Linked DNA regions of Homo sapiens: all the other regions are linked to region 2. The links are contacts of gene promoters, found by promoter capture Hi-C in human tissues and cell types (Jung and others, 2019). All regions are on one chromosome and are shown on one strand. The core of a region is centred on a gene start or on the middle of the fragment in contact, and the rest is flanking DNA. Distances in the headings are between cores, read along the strand shown. Region 1 has its middle 46 kb from the start of CDH20. Region 2 holds the start of CDH20 (cadherin 20). Region 3 overlaps CDH20 (cadherin 20).

Region 1 (2,989 bases), core at 105-2,604, 46 kb before region 2:
CCATCTTCTGTTCATTCTGAAAGGGTCTTTTCATTATATATTAATTGCATTATTAGCCCATGGCTGTTGGTTTTGCACTTAAGACTTTAGCTGCTAGATTTTATCCAGTTTGAATCCCAGCTCTGGCTTACTAGCTATGTAACTTGAGAAAGTTACTTAATTCTCTCTCTATCCATTTCCTTAGCCAGAAAATGGAGATAATAATAGCAACTTCTTTAAAATGTTTTTGTGATATGTACATGAGTTAGTACATGAAAAATGCCCAGAACAGAGCTTGGCACTTAGTAAGTCTGGAGGACTGATTCCGTTTAGCAAATATTTAGTAAGTACATACTACAAGAGGGCACTGTGTGTTAGGAAATGGAGACATAAGAAGGAACAGAACACAATGTCTGCTCTCCAAAAGCTTGTAGTCTAATGGTTCCACAGCAGATCATTTGCTTTTTATTAAAATAACATTTAAGCACTTGGCACCAAGCACTATGGCAAACCCTGTAGCTATTCTGTCGACACTCTGGCCATGAAAAAGATAAGCTGAGATATTTTGCACAGAACATCTTCAAAGTGAATGGGAAAACTGCATTTATTATTTGGGGCTTTCAATGAGCTACATATTTCATTTAGACCGAAATGCTTTTCACCCAAGTTACTTGAAGAATTTGTCTGTCTTCATTTCCTGAGGCATGAATGAACCAAGCTCAGGGATTCAAATGCTAATTCTTTACATGGCTTCCAATCTCTCATTGCACCTAAACTTGCAAGAAGCAGTGTGACAGCTATGTCAACCCAAAATCTGTGCAGGTATGGAAAACATAAAGATAAAATTTCACATAACCAAGCTTCAGTGGGAGAAGTCCCTAGATTCAGACACAGATCTCTGATTAACATCATTATAGAAAGCAAGTTGCTAAATTAAATTGGAGAGGATGGCATGATTGAGACCTCTGAATCCAGCACTTCCCTCCCTGAAATTATAAAATTGCAACTTTAAAAATGAAAGTGACTGAAATCCACTTATCTTCAGGGATTGGCTTACAGATTATTCCATAATAGGCACACAAAATGATTGCAGTAATTGAAGTTGAGACAAGGTAATATTAAGTAGGCCTCCCACCGGAAATTTCCAAGGAAGCTGTAAGGAATTGGGACCTTTTTCCATTTCTTTCAAATATAATAATGTCCAATTTTTCTAAATCAGTTATAAATGTTAGTATCTGAGATGCAGGTTAAAGGGACAACAAAATTTTGTTCCTCAGTTTTCTTCCCTGCTGTGGAACAAGAACGAACTTGGTGTAAAAGATGTTAAAATAGTTATTTAATAGGAATTTTCTATTTCTATTATTTTCTGCTCCTTTGCAGTACATCCTGTAGCCTCTTGTAATAGCACAAACCTTCTGCAGGACCCAGTCAGTTGGATGTTGTAACTGTGATGTTACTCGTTCCAACCTGCTTAAGAATTCCAACTGACTGAGTGAGACTCCGTCTGAAAAAAAAAAAAAAAAAAGAATTCCCTATAGGAATTCAGTCACCAACAGAAATGAGGAGTTTGCAGCCTAAAGGGAAAGTGTGGTGGCCTTATAAATGGAGTGGAAGGTGCACCTACTCCTTCAAGCTAAACGGATGGTGATCAGGAGAAACACTGAAGGAGAATGGAGAGTGAACAAAGGAGACTGGCCTCTCATTCTTAAACTGTACACTTGCAGAAATGCAGAACCTGGTTAGCCCACCTCACTGTGTCGTCAGAGCAGAATACAGCAACAGGGTTCTTGAGCAAACCTGACATGTATCCTCAGTAGAGTGAGGCATATATGAACATAGAGACTTATGAGCCCCTTTTCTGGAAAATTCTGAAGGGAGACCACAATCCATAATAACACAGAAAGAGAAGGCAGCAGTGAGTCAGTCTGAACTCCCACTATGGGGTATGGCAAGGATGATATGTTTCCCTTGGGCCAAGTGAGTACTCAGAGGGAAACAGGCCTTGGGCTATCACTGCAGGTACTTCAACCAAGAGGGTGCCAGCAGGAACAATGAGAATTCCCAGTAAGAGGCTACAGGATGTACTGCAAAGGAGCAGAAAATAAGAGGGTTTGCAGAAGGTTAGTTAACCAAAGAGAGTGATACCAATGTTTTGGAACTGTCCAATGTGGTGGTCTTTGGAAGGCCTTTCAAATTACTCAACATGGACCCTACAAGGCAGCTTATCACATCCACCTGCAGAATAGACAGACACCAGTTATATAATGTTTCATTCCCTTGTTCCTCTAATTGTCTACCCCTACAAAAGTCAGGAAAAAAAAAAGAGAAAGAAGGGAAAGAATAAAGTATATAGAATGTACCTTTTCTTACTACAAAGAGTAGAGATGATGTCACTTACATGTGATGAATAATTTTTTATTTAGGCTGCATATTTTTAATATTTGAAGGACTCACAATTACAGAAAACAGACTGTTCTTTATTACAGAAAAGGAATTAGATAGTTACATGATCTGCTTAAGATCTGATCAAGAGGTAGAGAACATCTTAGATAGGGGTTGGAAAAAAGTCATTTTCTATTAGTTGTCTAAGACATTCAGACTATCCCATAAACAATCATCAATCAATCAACCAGGAAGTTTTACTGAATACAAACTCTATGAGAGACTGTGTGTTCTGAATAAACAATTTATAATGCCTTTATTCCACCAAGCAAAATTGGGCTAGACAGTACATGAAGCTGTATTGCCTAGTAGAGATAGCCCACTGCCTCTCTATATCGTTTGGTACCTATGTAACCCTTCTCTATATGAATGGGAATGGAATAAGTGAGGATACTTGCTAGACAGGTATTCCTGTTAACTATGTGGACTAGTACAGTAGTGGAACCTAATGTCCCTTCCAAAGATAGGAAAGTTTCGATTAAAATAAATAAATGTAGAGAAAAAATAGTAGCTGGGGGTAAGAAATTTAAAAAATGGTTATATATTAAGGCAAACCCTATTGGATATT
Region 2 (2,924 bases), core at 377-2,876:
ACTTAATGAATAGTAAATACATTTCATTTTCCTTATTATTTCCTTAGTATCATTTTCTTTCCTCCAGACTATTGTTAAGAATACAGCATATAAAATGTATAGCATATAAAATATGTGTTAGTCGACTGCTTATGTTATCCATAAAGTTTCCAGACAACAGTAGGCTATTAGTAGTTAAGTTTTTGGAGTGAAAAGTTATATGCGGATTTTTGACTACACGAGGGTCAGTGCTCCTAACCCCCATGTTGTTCAAGGGTCAACTGCCCTTACTTTATTGAGCCACATCTGCATCATCTATTAAAATAGAGAAATAATAGTCTAGACTGAATAGAGTTGTTGGAAAAATGAAATGAAATAACATGTGTAACACATGTCTGTCACATAACAAGTTCTCCATAAACATTAGCTATTCTGCTATTAATAATCATTGTTATAACTATGAGTTCTAATTCTAGGCCTGCTGAAAGCTATTAAAATATGGCATGACTGCCTTAACTGGGATACTATTTCTATTGTCACACACTTGGGAATCTTATTGGATGTTTATATATATCATTTTATCAGTTCTTTACACACATTGATCATTTGGCCACAGAGCAGTTGTACAAATAGATTATTTAGTAACCTATCAATTCAATCAAAATAACTTGCTCTATTACAATCAGTGATGGGGGAGGAAATCCTCCAAGCACCTTGCTTGAAGAGAAATGTAGAAACCACATCGGGCAAAAAGTCCCCCTCCAGCCACTGTGAAACCCAAGTTGTCGTCAGTAACTTGACATTCTAGGGTAGGAATCAGGACAGGAGAGAGGTGATCTCTCCTTTTGACCTTGTGTATTCTGACCTCAGAAATAAGAGCTGGAATTGCCTTCTGGAATGGGCCTGTCACAGTATTGTGTGATTTGGGGGACCCCCTTCATCTGGGAGAGAAGGGTGGTCTCAGCTTCCACCTCAGAAATTTCTGACCCTTAATATACCTCCACCCCATCTCTAGTTAAAGGCTTAAAACTCTAAGATTTTCCTATGAGGACAAAAAGAAAAGGAAATCTGAGCATTTGAAGAAATTCTTAAAAGTCGATGAGTGAGGTTTCCCTCACACATGCCATCTTCCCCTACCTCTCCTCTTGAAAACAATGTCTTTTGCACCCTCAAGGTCAAGGTTAAACCCGAGTTGGTACTCATTTCCTTTCTGATTTTATTTGCCTTATCCTGTTCTACTCCTCAATTGCCTCTTCCAGAATCTGTGCAAAATAATTACCTCAACTTCAGGGGAAAGTTTAGATGTAAATACCCCCGCCCCCCTCCCCACGTCCACACATCCCCTTTCTTCTCTCTCCCTCTTAACATTTCCTTACGCTCTCAGCCAATAGAGGAGTTGAAACATTTAAATGCGGTATCTAAACTGCATTTAAAGAATTAACCCATTTTGCCCCTCACTGGTCTAAACCACAGGGTGCCAACCGGACGTTAATTGCTTTCATCTGGTGGGGTTCCAGACAGCTCCTCAGAAGGAAGGAGCGCACATTCCTGGCACCAATTGGCTAATTCAATTTACTTCAGCGGCATTAGCCTCTGTCAGAATATTCATGAGCAGGGGAATGAGGACCCGCGGTACAGGCAGGCAGCAGCCACTCCTGCTAGGGAAGGCGCGAGGGAGGGGAAGCGGACCGCGCGCCACGCTCGGGGGACGGTGACCGCGACCAGGGGGCTCTTCTCACTGGACAGGCCGAACGCGGTGGCCGCGGGAGGGCAGGGCAGGGCATCGGCGGGGTTGGTGCACTTGGCAGTACCCCCCAACTCCTGGCAACCGCACGGAGACTTTGCGAAACATCCGAAGGCAGAAAAGCTGTGACACTTCTGACAGAGGGGGTAGGGGGGTGGGGGGCGGGGACAGCGCCGCGAGCAGGGGTGAAGAGACCCAGCGGGGCACCAGCCGCCCAGTGGGGGAGGCAGCTACGTGAGCAGAACGCCCGCCCTGGAGCAGTTAGGACCGAAGGTCTCCGGAGAGTCGCCGGCGGTGCCAGGTAACGCAGAGGGCTCGGGTCGGGCCCCGCTTCTGGGGCTTGGGACTCCGGGCGCGCGGAGCCAGCCCTCTGGGGCGAAATCCCCGGGCGGCGTGCGCGGTCCCTCTCCGCGCTGTGCTCTCCCAGCAACTCCCTGCCACCTCGACGAGCCTACCGGCCGCTCCGAGTTCGACTTCCTCGGACTTAGTGGGAGAAGGGGTTGGAAATGGGCTGCCGGGACTGGGGGAGCTGCTCTCTGGAAGCAGGGAAGCTGGGGCGCACCGGGGCAGGTGGAGGACGTGGCGCGCTGGGAGCGGGGACTGCGCGCGCCTGGGGATGGTGACTGGGGATCCAGGAGCGCGGCTTGTGGGGGCGCTTGGCACGGCTTCACCCTCGCTGGCCCCGCAGGCGGTGGCGCCTCCCTCCGCCTGCAGAGGGGACAGGGTGGCCGCGTCCCTCGCACAGAGATGTGCGCCGGGAAGGGGACCAGAGAGCCAGGCTCCGGGGAGGCGCAGGCACCTACGGGGCCGATCCCTGGTCCGTGCCTCGCGCCGCGCCCCCGCCGGAGCTCGGCTGTGGGAGGAGAATGTGGTGGGTACTCGAGTCCCCGCCACCTGCCGGACTTCGCCAACTCCCCGGATTTCCTGTCCTCGGGCCCTGACACTCCCAAGGAAAGCTCTGAATTGCGCTCGCTGTTTGGTTTTTGCTTGTTGTAGTTACTCTGGGGGAAGAGCCGGGGGCAAGGGGGTCAAATGGGGCTAAAGTTTCAGATTTGCAAAGAGAACGTTACCGAGGACTCTCAACGTGTCCTTAGCAATCGGAGAGACTGCAGCAGCCTTTGCCTAGCTATCCGCCTCTGGGGCAGCAGTGGGGGCTGAAATCTGGAAGGCAGCCCGGAGGCAGCGTCAGAGCCTTGTTTTG
Region 3 (2,891 bases), core at 102-2,601, 45 kb after region 2:
AGCCACAAAGGAGTCTGGGAATTTGGCCTCTAGCTGGGCAGTCAAACCCCCAGATAAACCCTATTACAATGGAACAGGGGAGAACAACAGGGAGAAAACCAGGAGGCAGCCTCAGTAGAACTGAAACATTAGACCTGGCCACATAAGTTTCCATTACTTGTATCTTGTTCAGGTTTCATCAGACACGCGAAGCCTCATAAGTGGCCAGCCTCTTAGCCTTCCTTCAGATTGTCCACCGAGAGCCCAATCCACTTTGAGTTTTTACTTGGCCGCATTGTTAAGTCTTTGGTGACCACTTCAGAAATATATTTTATTTCTTAAATTAAAATGAACTAAAATTAATATTTTTAAATATTTTACAACCAGCGCACACATCCCTTTTTTTAGTAAATGGAGTTTATTTGGCTGTCACCAAATCAAGATTAGGGATTCCTACCTCAGCAGCTCATTTGCACATTCTATCATGGGTTTCTTAATATTACGATATATCTGTTTTTTACATTGTGGGCCTACATCTTGAGGGAAGAAATTATGTATTGGATCTATGTTACGGTTCACTCCACAGACCTGCACATATTGGGCCACTTACTAACTCTTATACTAATTAGACTGGTTCACATTCTGACAACTAATGACTTATTTACTTCACATTTTTGAAATGTCAGGACTTTAAGGAAGGGTCCACCCAAGCAGGAGAAATCTATACCTTTCTTAAGCTGAGAAAGTCTGTGGGGGACCCAGGAGTTCCTTTGATGTCCCCGTTTTCCTAGTAGATTCCCAAGGGTCAACAGGGCTCTGTTCACATCAGAAATGGCTAAAATACTGAAGAACAGATTGCTCACTATTGGCTCATTCTACCCCAGGAGCAGATTAAATACTTGTATGGGCATTCTAAATTAAATTTTAATATAATAGGTGTATGAAACACCTTCATTTTCAAAATTCTGTGGACTTTCATCAGCTGATGTATTTGCCATGGTACTCTAGTGAAACAGAACCAATGGTAGACGTGTATCTGAGCCTGAGAAGTCTCAAGATCTGCAGGTAGCAAACTAGAGACCCAGAAGACTAATGGTGAAAGTTCCAGTCCAAGTTCAGGTCCAAAGGTGGGAGAAGACTGATGTCCCAGCTCAAAGACAGGCAGAATGAGCAAACTTCCCCCTTACACAGCCTTTTTATTCTATTCAGGCATCCAACGGATTAGATGATGCCTGCTCGCGTTGGACAGAGCAAGCTGCTGTACTCAGTCTACGGGCTCAGATTTTAATCTCATCCAGAAACATCCTCTTTACTCAGTCTACTGGCTCATATTTTAATCTCATCCAGAAACACCCTCATGAAGACATCCAGAATAATGTTTGGCCAAATGTTTGGCATGCCACAGCCCAGTCAAGTTGACGTAAAATTAACCATTACGACTGGTGACTATTCTTTTTGTCTTAGTAAAAGCTCTGATTTAGATCAAATGTAACAAAACTTTCAGGTAGATAATAAGGGAAATAGTTCTGCTTTTTTCAAAATTAATTTCTAAAGAACTGGCATTTGGTGCTTCAGCTTAGATGTGACTTGGGGTGTATTTTAAGGAAACAACCACACTCTAAGCACAATTAATATGAGACACTCAGGGTTGTTTGCCAGGAATAGAATATATACTGCAAGTGATTTAAGAAAATATTATAATAAATTAAATGGTGGCCTTTTTCTCCCCTCTCGGTAGTTTTCGTATAGTATTAAAGACTTCCTGAGATTACTTAGATAAATATGATATAAAAATAAAATTTAAGAAGAAAATCTACAATTAGGTTTTTCCCCTTATAATTTTCAGGCTTTTAGGCTGTATCTCTTGAAATGATATATAAAAATGATAATGACTCAGATATGGTTAACACAGATAATCAGCTTAGATAATTACCGCAGAAGAGTGGCTCTCTTTATTTCAACTGGCTATTTTAATAGATCAGCTAAGCCTAATAATAATCAAGCAATTTCTCCTTAATTTGTGCTGGGCACATAAAATTTCAACAGCTGTGAAGCATTATTATGCTCCCTTCAAATTTTTCTTAGGGCTCTTTGAGAAACTTGTAATGTTGAAATATTAATCGCTTTATTGAGGATGCCAAACCTTAGAACATTAATAGAAAAGTCCCTTCCCAGGATTGCATTGACTTCTCTGGCTTTAAGATACAGAATATACAAACTTAGAGTCTTTTCTCTTTCTAGGCTCCACAATATAAAGCTTACTAGAGAAAAGGAAAGTCTATGGAATATTCTTTAGGGCCACATAGACAGAGTATCTATTATTAACTGATAATTTTTGGTATCGTGAGATAGTTCCCAGTATGAATCCCAAAGATAAAGTTTTAGTGGGCATTATGTAGCTAAGAAAACATCAGAAAGGGGCCTTGCCTGCAAAACTATGGGCTTGATATTTACATTTATTTCCTCATCTAGTGTCTTTGTATACAAAATAGTATTGTTGGAGTGTCCTGATGTAATTTGCTGACTGATCCAAGAGTTTCACATACATGAGATAACTATTACAATTGAGAAACCTGTCAAGAGGAGGAAAAGCAGAGAGGTAGGTCTTTGATGGTTTCATTTGGATTTTAACATCCTTAACCATTCAAAATTAGACTTCAGGCCTTATAGCTACTCTCCCTCAGCCACTGAACCAAGGCAATAAGCAAAGTGTTTCTAAGGACTGTCAGCTTGTAGTTGATACAGGCAAAGCATCCTTGTCAGGATTCTTAATGCAGGCAGACACGCGGATGTTTATTTTAGATCATTTGCTCTGACAAGACTGTCGATTTAGAGTTGCTGCGACTGTGGGTTAGGGAAGTACTGAAAGTGGCTGCAGGCAGATAAAACCCCCTGAAGGGGGCTTCAGGGGA

The links. Contacts are between HindIII fragments. The study calls those that stand out against the background at their distance.
Region 1: a fragment that was not itself captured here is called in contact with the fragment with the promoter of CDH20 in region 2 in 6 of the 25 tissues and cell types used here (heart left ventricle, neural progenitor cells, pancreas and 3 more).
Region 3: a fragment that was not itself captured here is called in contact with the fragment with the promoter of CDH20 in region 2 in 2 of the 25 tissues and cell types used here (hippocampus and lymphoblastoid cells).

The regions. Positions count from the first base shown.
Region 1 is chr18:61,285,637-61,288,625 of GRCh38, forward strand. No RefSeq gene overlaps it. Among named protein-coding and RNA genes, the nearest start is that of CDH20, 46 kb to the right of the region's middle. The HindIII fragment of the contact is 4,448 bases long and covers 1-2,989 here.
Region 2 is chr18:61,331,804-61,334,727 of GRCh38, forward strand. CDH20 (cadherin 20) reads left to right here and starts at 1,627. Exons shown (of 12, transcript NM_031891.4): 1 at 1,627-2,024. The HindIII fragment of the contact is 19,388 bases long and covers 1-2,924 here.
Region 3 is chr18:61,377,271-61,380,161 of GRCh38, forward strand. All of the region lies in intron 1 of CDH20 (cadherin 20), which reads left to right. Among named protein-coding and RNA genes, the nearest start is that of CDH20, 45 kb to the left of the region's middle. The HindIII fragment of the contact is 5,047 bases long and covers 1-2,891 here.